Linked DNA regions of Homo sapiens: region 2 is linked to region 1. The links are contacts of gene promoters, found by promoter capture Hi-C in blood cells and fetal thymus (Javierre and others, 2016). All regions are on one chromosome and are shown on one strand. Each heading gives the region's core, a stretch centred on a gene start or on the middle of the fragment in contact. The rest is flanking DNA. Distances are from core to core; before and after follow the strand shown. Region 1 holds the start of ASTN2-AS1 (ASTN2 antisense RNA 1). Region 2 holds the start of PAPPA-AS1 (PAPPA antisense RNA 1).

What was found. Contacts are between HindIII fragments. The CHiCAGO score rates a contact against its expected background, and 5 or more counts as called.
Region 2: the fragment with the promoter of PAPPA-AS1 here is called in contact with the fragment with the promoter of ASTN2-AS1 in region 1 in 13 of 17 cell types (neutrophils, M2 macrophages, M0 macrophages and 10 more); the score reaches 13.5 in neutrophils.

The regions. Positions count from the first base shown.
Region 1 is chr9:116,501,917-116,506,651 of GRCh38, forward strand. It overlaps ASTN2-AS1 (ASTN2 antisense RNA 1), which reads left to right and starts at 2,367. Exons shown (of 12, transcript NR_033973.1): 1 at 2,367-2,428. All of the region lies in intron 19 of ASTN2 (astrotactin 2), which reads right to left. RefSeq lists an enhancer at 3,567-3,736. The HindIII fragment of the contact is 9,663 bases long and covers 1,681-4,735 here.
Region 2 is chr9:116,398,274-116,403,008 of GRCh38, forward strand. PAPPA-AS1 (PAPPA antisense RNA 1) reads right to left here and starts at 2,333. Exons shown (of 1, transcript NR_103711.1): 1 at 1-2,333. PAPPA (pappalysin 1) reads left to right here. Exons shown (of 22, transcript NM_002581.5): 22 at 1-4,048. The HindIII fragment of the contact is 11,566 bases long and covers 1,375-4,735 here.

The DNA of each region.
Region 1 (4,735 bases), core at 1,117-3,616:
CTCAGTTCTCCTCCATACTCGCACTTGCACACACACACAAAAAGCATATCCCCCTCCCCACTCCATCCCTGGAGGCAACAAGCCTCCAGAAGGGTGGGGAGAAGGCCCAAGCAAAGATGAGTCAGGTTTTCTGGTCATGCAAGCAACACCATTTAACCAGGCTGAGGTGAATCATTGAGAAGGAGGTGGGACCTGGGAGGTGGCAGAGAGAGGTAGATTTCCAAATGTGTGTGTGTGTGTGTATGTGTATGCATGCATGTATGTGAGAGAGAGAGACAGAGAGACAGGGACAGAGAGGCAGAGAGACATAGAGACACACAGAGAGAGACAGAGAGAGACACACACAAAAAACAAACACAGAGAGGAGACACACAACACACAGACACAAAGACACACACTCACACACAGAGAGAGGAGAGAGAGAGAGAAATAGAGAAAGAGACCAAGAGAGAACTACAGCCAGAAAATACTCAGAAAGACTGAAGCAGAAACTGAGAGCCACAGTGAGAGACAGAGGAGAAATGGAGAGAGAAAGAGAGAGACATAGATAAGAACACATAGGGCCAAAGACAGAGAACCAGAAATAAAAATGCAGAAAAAAGACAATCAGAGAGAAGTGGATAGAAGGTCAGAGACCTAGAAAGACAGATAGAAATAGAGAGACATAGACAGGAGTTGGTGAGGAGAGAGAGAGAGAAACAGAGAAAATCGGGGTCAGAAAGACCAAGACCAAGGCAAACAAGAAAAACAGAAGGAAGAAAGGAAAGAAGGAAGGAAGGAAGGAAGGAAGGAAGGAAGGAAGGAAGGAAGGAAGGAATGAATGAATGAATGAGGGAAGGAAGGAGAGAAGGAAGGAAGGAAGATGGAAGGAAAGAAAAAAGGAAGGAGGTAGAAAAGAAGAAGAGAATGAAGGAGGGAGGGAGAGAGGGAAGGAAGGAAGATGAAAGGAAAGAAAAAAGAGAGGAAGGAAAGAAGAAGGGAAGGAAGGAGGAAAGGAGGGAGGGAGGGAAGAAAGATGGAAGGAAAGAAAAAAAGGAAGGAGGAAGAAAAGAAGGGAAGGAAGGAGAGAGGGAGGGAGAGAGGGAAGGAAGGAAGATGAAAGGAAAGAAAAAAGGAGGAAGGAAAGAAGAAGGGAAGGAAGAAAGGAAGGAAGGAAGGAGGGAGGAAGGGAAGGAAGATGGAAGAAAAGAAAAAAGGAAGGAGAAAGGAAAGAAGGGAAGGAAGTAAGGAAAGAAGAAAGGAGAAAGGAAGGAAGAAGGAAGAAGGAGGGAGGAAGGAAGGAAGGAAGGGCACGGCAGGACCAGCTAGAAGGGCATCTTCTGGAGATGGATGCCCTTGAGTGACCAGGGAAGCTTTACTTCTGGTCTCACCGCTACTCGGGGCAGATGATCTGGGAGGAGGAGGGGGGGAGAGTGAGAGGGTGACTGGCATTTCCATTCAGCTCCCCTCATCTATCCCTCCCACCCACATATAGAGGTTTTCACTCTATTAAAATGACTCCCTTGCTTCCTCATTTATGTTAAAATTTTCCTTGAAATAAAGAAAAGGAAACAAGGTCACCCTTCAATCCACAATGAAAACTATAAAAGCGTTTTTAGGCTTGGAAAATTTAGCTGGTCAGTTTTTCCTACTGTTTAATAACTGCCTTGGGTTACACTGAATGAGTAAACATGTTTTACAAGCTTCTAATTCATACCTAACCCTATGAGTTCACAGCTTTACATAATATATACACACACATATACTATATATACACACATGCACACATACATACTGCAATGTAAAATATAAACACACATACATACTTAATATATATATGAGTGTGTTCGTGTGGTGTAAGTAATCTTTCCAATTTGTGCAGCTCATTAGGGCTTACAAAGCACGCTCTTTCCTCATTTAATCCTCACGATAATCCTGTGAGGTAGGCAGTTTAGGATTATCATCCCCAGTTTACAGGTACCTGTGGTTAAGGTAGAGAGACCAAGAACCCACAGGTCTCTAAGGCATCACAGTCCATATCACAGTTCTGCTCTCCATAGTCCCAAAGCTGACTTCATGAACTTGGGTAGTGCAGTGCCCACTTCTGGACCTGCAAGGACCCAAAACCATGGGGATCCTGAGGCATCATCTGTTTCAGGGCTTCATTGTACAGACAGGAAAACTAAAGCTCAGACTATTACTGCTAGCCTATAGGGTGCCTCTGTGCAAATTGGAAAAACAATAGAAAAATAAAAATCATCTCTTTCTTAAGATACTTCCCTCCCTTGTTCCAATATTCTGATTTGTTAGAACAAGACACTTGATCAATGATTAATACATGTTTATGATGTCTACAATTGGAATGGTGAGCTTTGGAATGTGGTAGCATTGTGAGCAGCAAAACCTGTGCGACTGCATCTGACATCGCCAGGATGGGGGCCCAACCAAGGTGAGGGCAAAGAGGACGGTAAGGGAGAAAGAAAGAAAGAAGGGAAGGTAAGATGGGAGAGACAGCACCTACTTTCTGAGGTCTAAGAAGAAAACCCATTTTACTTAAAGGACATTGAGATAATAATAATAACTAGTGTTTATTAAGCTCTTAATCTTTTCTGATACTTACAGTAACCCTGTGAGAGTGTTTCATATTGCTAACTACTGCTTGTATTTCTATCTTACACTCTCAAGTAATAATAATATTATTCAGAATAACAGTGACAATTGATATAACTTAAGCATTCACAATGTTAGATACTATGCCTAGTATTTCATGTACTGCATCTCATTTCAGCTTAATAACAATATGCCAGCCTGGGCGACATAGTAAGACCTCATCTCTACAAAAGTACAAAAATTAACTGGGTGTTGTATCGTGCATCTGTAGCTCCAGCTACTCAGGAAGCTGAGGTGGGAGGATCACTTGAGCCTGGGAAGTCAAGGCTGCAGTGAGCCAAGATAGTACCACTGCCCTCTAGCCTGGATGACCAAGTGAAATCCTGTCTCAAAAAAAAAAAAAAAAAAACCCAAAACAACAACAACAAAAAACACAAGTTAGCTTATTTCCCCAAATTTACAAATGAGTATATCAAGATTCAGAGAGATCCACTAACTTGCCTAAGGTCACTTGGTTAAATTGCGCAACTGAGATTTGACTATTATGAGGGAAGAGTAAAGGTCAGACACACTTTCACATCCTCTAAAAGTGACTGAAATGCTTTACATTCTCAATAATTACTAACTATGCTAGCACATCAGAGAACCCTACTTTGCATATGGGGCATCAATATCTCTGACTTCTCATCTCGTGTGCTTTTAGTATCTGATAGTCTACTCATTCCTTTAATCGCTTTGAGGCTACTGATGAATGGAACCATCTAGATCATGAATCCAGGGAGTCTCTGCTCTGTGGAAACAATGTTGGTTCCCGCTCAGCTTTTCCCTGGTGCCCAGCTCGCCTCCCTGTTTCCACCTCTCCCTTACTGGATACCCAATCAATGCAAATGGATCTGAGTAGTCATTAGAATTTATTTTTTAAGAAAAGCAAGGCAAAACCAAACCAAAACCAGAAGTCTGCCACAATATGCAAAGAACCACCTTTGGATTCCAATAAAACTGGGCTTCCTACCTTTAGCATCCTCTTGTGTAAGACAGGAATAAGAAGTATTACCATTTTAATAGAATGTTTCAAGGATTCAATGTGTAAAATATCTGACCCAGTGCTTCTCCTTAATGTATAAAATGTATTCCAAAACAAGAAGTGGCGATGGGTCGGGGGCACTCATGTTGCACTAGAACTTTACAGTGTACCTGGTATTTTCATATCCATCAACTCCTAGGCAATCCAAAGCCTCACTACTGCTCCAGCTAGAGCGCCTTCCCTCTCCCTTTGCTGACTACACTTCAATGACTGTGCCCTCCTTGGTGCTCCTGAGGATGCTCCAGGGGCTTTGCTATTGCTACATCCTCAGTCTGGAGCAGTCTACATTCAGCTAGCCACATGGTTCACTTCCTCCCACTTTCCGGTCTCTGCTCAAACATCACACCCTCAAAGAGGTTTGTCCTGATCACTGTAACTAAATGGTATGCCCCCAACCTCTATCCTCATACCCTATTTTTCTTTCAAACACATAGTACACTTTGACTCTGTATTGCACATCTATTACTTTACCATCATTGCCTCCCAACCCTCTGTACCGGGAACATAAGCTCCATGATAGGAGCTTGTTCAGTGCCTTCTCCTCAGCTTCTGGAATAGTGTTCGGTATGTAGTAGGTGTTCAATAAGTGGTTACTGAATGACTTAACTCATAGTTGTTCATGAAACTCTGAGAGGCTGGCAAGGCTGGCATTCTGATGCACACTTTACATGTGAATAAACTGAGGCCCAAGGAGGTGAAGAAAATTTTCTAAAGTCCTTCAGCTGGTGGATAACAGGAGTGGGACTAGCAAACTGAGCTGCCAGACTCAAATCCAAAGCTCTTTGTATTTCACCAACTTGTATTTCCTATTATTGCTCCCCTTCACCTCCAAGCATGCCCTGGGAAATGGGTGTTATTTGGGATTTTACCTCTTAGGCGGGAAGCCCCAGAGATGGAGGAGTAAGAAGGAGTGACTTCACATGTTCTCCACCCAGACATAGGCCTTGCTAGAGTCCCATGAACAAACTAGAGCTCTGGCCCTCATCTGGGAGCAGGCAGACCAGCCACTAGCAGCCAAAAGGAGGAAGGGATTGATAAATAGAGAGAATGTGGGAGGAGGGC
Region 2 (4,735 bases), core at 1,083-3,582, 100 kb before region 1:
GAAACCTGGAGCTGGGAATTGCGGAGAAGGGAAGGTCTAGACTAGTTACATCACATAGGGATTACTGTAAATCAAGTCATCTCAAGTCTAGTGAAGACAGCCAACAGAAACAAAACCTAGCATAGGGATAGAAAATACCATGCACGTGTGCAGCCCCACCTAATTCCTGCATCCAAGGCAGGTGTTGTTAATCTATCATAGCACTTAAAAAAAAAAAAAAAAAGAGACCAAAAATAACTTTAGGAACCACCATATTATATCACTCCCAATAGCACTGACCTGGTGATCAAAAACACTTGAGAAGACATCTATTGGCCATCTCTGGCCAATTACACTAAGAAACATATCAAGGTGCTTTTGGCACAGGTGCCCACAAATACGGATGCAGTGCTGAGATAGTTTATGAGACTTGTACCATTTCACAAACTCTGAAATTGGGTTCCATATTGGCAAGGCTGCCACAGTTGTTAAGAATAATCCTCTATGTTTCTTCCTCACAAAACCATATCTCATTTATATCCAGACCATTACTTCACTATAATTACAAGGACAAATTATTAGCAAGAAATAAGAATAGTATTAGAAGAATTGATCCTATTTTGAACCCCTCTCCAGTATCTTCACACTCTTGTCAACTCTCCAGGCCTCTCTCTTGCCCTGAGTTATCAGCCTGTGTGGTGTTAACTACCTTAGAAGGTACAAGCTAAGAAATGTAACAGTATCAACCCTCCCAGTTGCTTAATTATACCCATAGGTAATACAAAAAGCTCTGAAGACCCAAAGATGACATTACTAATGATGTGATTTCAGGAGCCACAGAAGAACCTTACCAGCTTCCCTCAAATCAGTCCTTATCCTCTTTCTATCTTCACTCCCATCATCATCTATTTTCACACTATCCAGCTAAGCAAAGATTCCTGGAGGCTGACTTGTATCTTCAGACTCACAGAGTGAATTCAGCTCTTCTGAATCAAGACCCACCCAGTCTCTTTCATTCAGACCTGTTGCTAACAAATTTATATTTGCCAAGGATATTAGGCAAAAGAGGCTACTTGATTGGTGGCCAACCTCGTGCCCACATGGAAGGTATCTTTAATAGGGTCTTTTCAAACCTTAGTGGAGGAGGGTCAGCTCAATTTGGGCAATGCATTTGTTCCCAGTTTCATTTTCTTCCTGGGAATTAACTCGTCATTTCATTCCTTCAGTCATCTTCTGTGTAGGTGACCGGAGCACTGAGAGGCAGCTCTGATGCACTATTGTGTGTCAGCAGCTCAAAGGCCCTAAAACACTGAAGGTTCTGCATCTGAAGTATTAGATTGTTAGCAGCAAAATATGAAAGATGAGGTGGACAGTCCTCTAAGCCCTATTTAGGGAAGCTTTTCCAAGCCACAATCTTAACTACCTACCCAAAGGATTTGCATTACCCCCAGATTCTGTGCCAACAACCTTTTAAGGAAATACAGTCCTTGGGAAATGAGTTTTGATGGTGAATTGGGGTGTTAAGGAAGGGAAAGATTGTCATAGATGGTAGGGCTTTGAAAATGCAGGGTATCAGCTGCCACTCCTGGCTTCAACACATTGAGTCACTGCCTAGACGGTTCTCTTGGTCTTATTCCCATCCTGGCCAATGCTTAAATACTATTTGTTGAAAATAATTCTTTGAGACAGATTTCAGCTACCTCCCTTCCAGGTTCGATTTAACTTGGTTGTAATTGTCAATTTGTTGTTATAGGTCTTACCTGTGTGAAAGAAAGAAAAAGAAAGAAAGAAAGAAAGAGAAAGGAAATTATAAGGTCAAGTTAACAGTTTTGAGGTTTTGTGTTTTTTTCTGGAACTACTTCAAGTGAGAAAATAAAAAAAAATGGTGACAAAGCTGTACAGATAGAGATAATAGAAGACAAAGAGATTAAAAGGAAATAAAAATGCATGATTAAAAACTAAGAATAAAAAACCTATTTTTATGTTTCCTAAAGGAAATTGTTTATTCTACAGCCTCAGTAGGTAGACACAAACATAAAGATTTCCCTAGAAGACATAGAGTGGGATTTGATAACACTGTCTGTTATTTTCTGTACATTGTGGTAGGTCCAGGAAATATGACATTTTCCCCCTTGATGTGTTATTGTTGTTGTTGGGTGGGGTGGGCATTTTGTTTATTTGTTTGGTGGCAATCAGTGGTAGTAGGGAGTGGGAGGGCTTATATTGGTTTTTCCAGCTATTAAGGGGACATATTGTGTCGTTGTGCTTTTCACGTTATAAAATGTTTATATTTACCAGTACAGCACTGGGCTTTATAAAGACTGCACTCAGAACCACACTGCACAGTCCAGTTTTTTAAAAAGCTGCTACATGACAGACAGGTAATCCCACTGAGTGAGTTTTGAGAAACAAATCAAACGAAGTAAACAAGAAACATAAAAACCAAATAGCAAATGAATAAAAGCCTGTTCTTGTAACTTATTCAACTTTTGCCAAATTCCTACCAATCACTTGCTTTTTAAAAGAAATGTATAATAGCCAAAAGAGAAATTATGTCCCTGTTGTACAGAAGTTAGAATTTTTGACTCCAGGCAGCAGTTTGCTCAGTGATCTTGAACAAGTTATCCAATTGCCTCTACATTTGCATCAGTTTCTCTAGCTGCAAAATGGGGATAATACTATATACCTACCTCACAGTGGGAGGGCAGGAGATTTTGAGGCCCTGAGGTTTTAGGTGGGCTGTGAGGGCCAACGCTTGACACAAAGTCCATGGGTTATTATTCAAGAATGCACAGGCCCATCGGCCTTTTAGAAAGACAAGACAGGGAGTGCTTGTTTGATATTTCAAGGAATAAAGCCGGAGCTCCTGAATTGTAGTCCACCTTAAAAGAGAGACCTGTATTGGAGAATATTTTATTTTTTTGGCAAATTTGATCTTACCCTTTACCAGTTCTATAATTTGGTTAAAAGCTGATTATGTCCTACAATGTCAAAGTCAGCTAACTGTCGTCTACTTAAGACTTCTGGTCATTTCCAACTTATAGAGGAAGGGAGTCTCTAAAATCTCTTCTTCAGAAGGCACCTCACTTCTCAGACTTAAAATTCCACATCAAGTGTTCCATTAAAAGAAGATAAGGCATTCTGAGTGCAAACAAATGGGGGCTTCTTAAACTACACACCAGCAGTCAGTGAGGAAAACTTTGAACAATTATTGAGTTGCTTTCTTGGGTCTCTATAATCAATAACCTGTCTGCAGATATCTATCTATATAAAGATATTATATATAAATATAAATTTACATATATATGCACATGTATATATAGTTGTACATATATGTGTGTATATATATACTTAAATGTAATATTTACAAAATAAAACTGTGATCTCGTCTAGAGAAAATGTATTCATATTACAAACTGCTCTTCCATATTTATGTACCATATTATACCTTTTTATTATTGTTATAATTATTATGGGTATTTCTAATTAATATGATGTTGAAACCTGTTTGGCACCTTCTGGAAGCTACCAAAAAAATGACACTCCATTGAAGTGCTTAAAAGCTGTTCTCATAAGAATTCTTCTGGCCTATTGTAAAAAAGAAAAAAAAAAAGAAAAAGAAGAAAGACACAAAGAAAATAATCTAAACACCAAAAACTAAACACAATTCCAATCCTTTTTCTGTACCTCACGCGCATAAATTTGCTGCTCCTATTTTTTTTTCTGTTTATGTGTTTTTATGGATCTAAGTTAAATCTTTTGGCAATATATAAAAATGTAAATAGTAAACTTTATTTATTAAGAATGTCATCTTTTTTAATTTATATTTACACAATTGTTCATCTAATTTATTTTTTCTATACAGTTTTAAATACTCAGACATATTTTGCTGTTCATGATATTTTTATCCTGTTCTCATGGATTTGTTTTCCCATACTGTTTTCTCTGATCTCAATTACAGGTTGGATCTCACAAATAATAATGTCAGAGACAGAAATATTTTGCCACTGTTGATTACTATACTTTAAAGTTCTATATTATGAAAATATATAATAGCTTGTACGCTTCAGTGTGTTGTTGTGTGGTTTTTGTGTGTTGCGGAATGATAAAGGGCTGTCATATATACACGCTAACATGGAGAGAGCCCTGGGGCCTGGAATTAGACAATCAATGATAGAACAAGATTTTATCCAATATATATCGATTCCTCTACAAAATTAATTCCTGAAAGTATCTAATTTTGCATATGCAAAAACTGAAAAACTTTCTTACATGTTATAAGAAAGTTCTGGGGAGCTAAAGCATATGTCACTCTTGGTTATATATTGCCTTTTGCACACAGCCTTTAATAATATACTTCCAGATGTAAACACTGGTATGGTCCAAAGACACAAACCAGTGCAGTGGTTCCCAAGTGCTAAGCTGTGGATCAGAGCTAGTTCATAACTAAGTTTTCATTTGTCTAAGGCAAAATGTGGGGTCAATTGTTCATTCTTGTGGAGTTCTATCTTTTAAGATGAACTCTTTCTTACTCTTCCGGTATTAAAATGTCATATTTTATATACATATATACACACAATATATGCATATGCAGGCTCATATATACATATATATATATATATATGTATCTCCACACACACACACACACACACACACACACATATATATAATTTTACATATGTGAAAATGAGCCTGCAGCTGGAACTGAAATGTTGCTGCTTTCAATCTGTCTAGTGTATCTCACTGTTCATCTTAT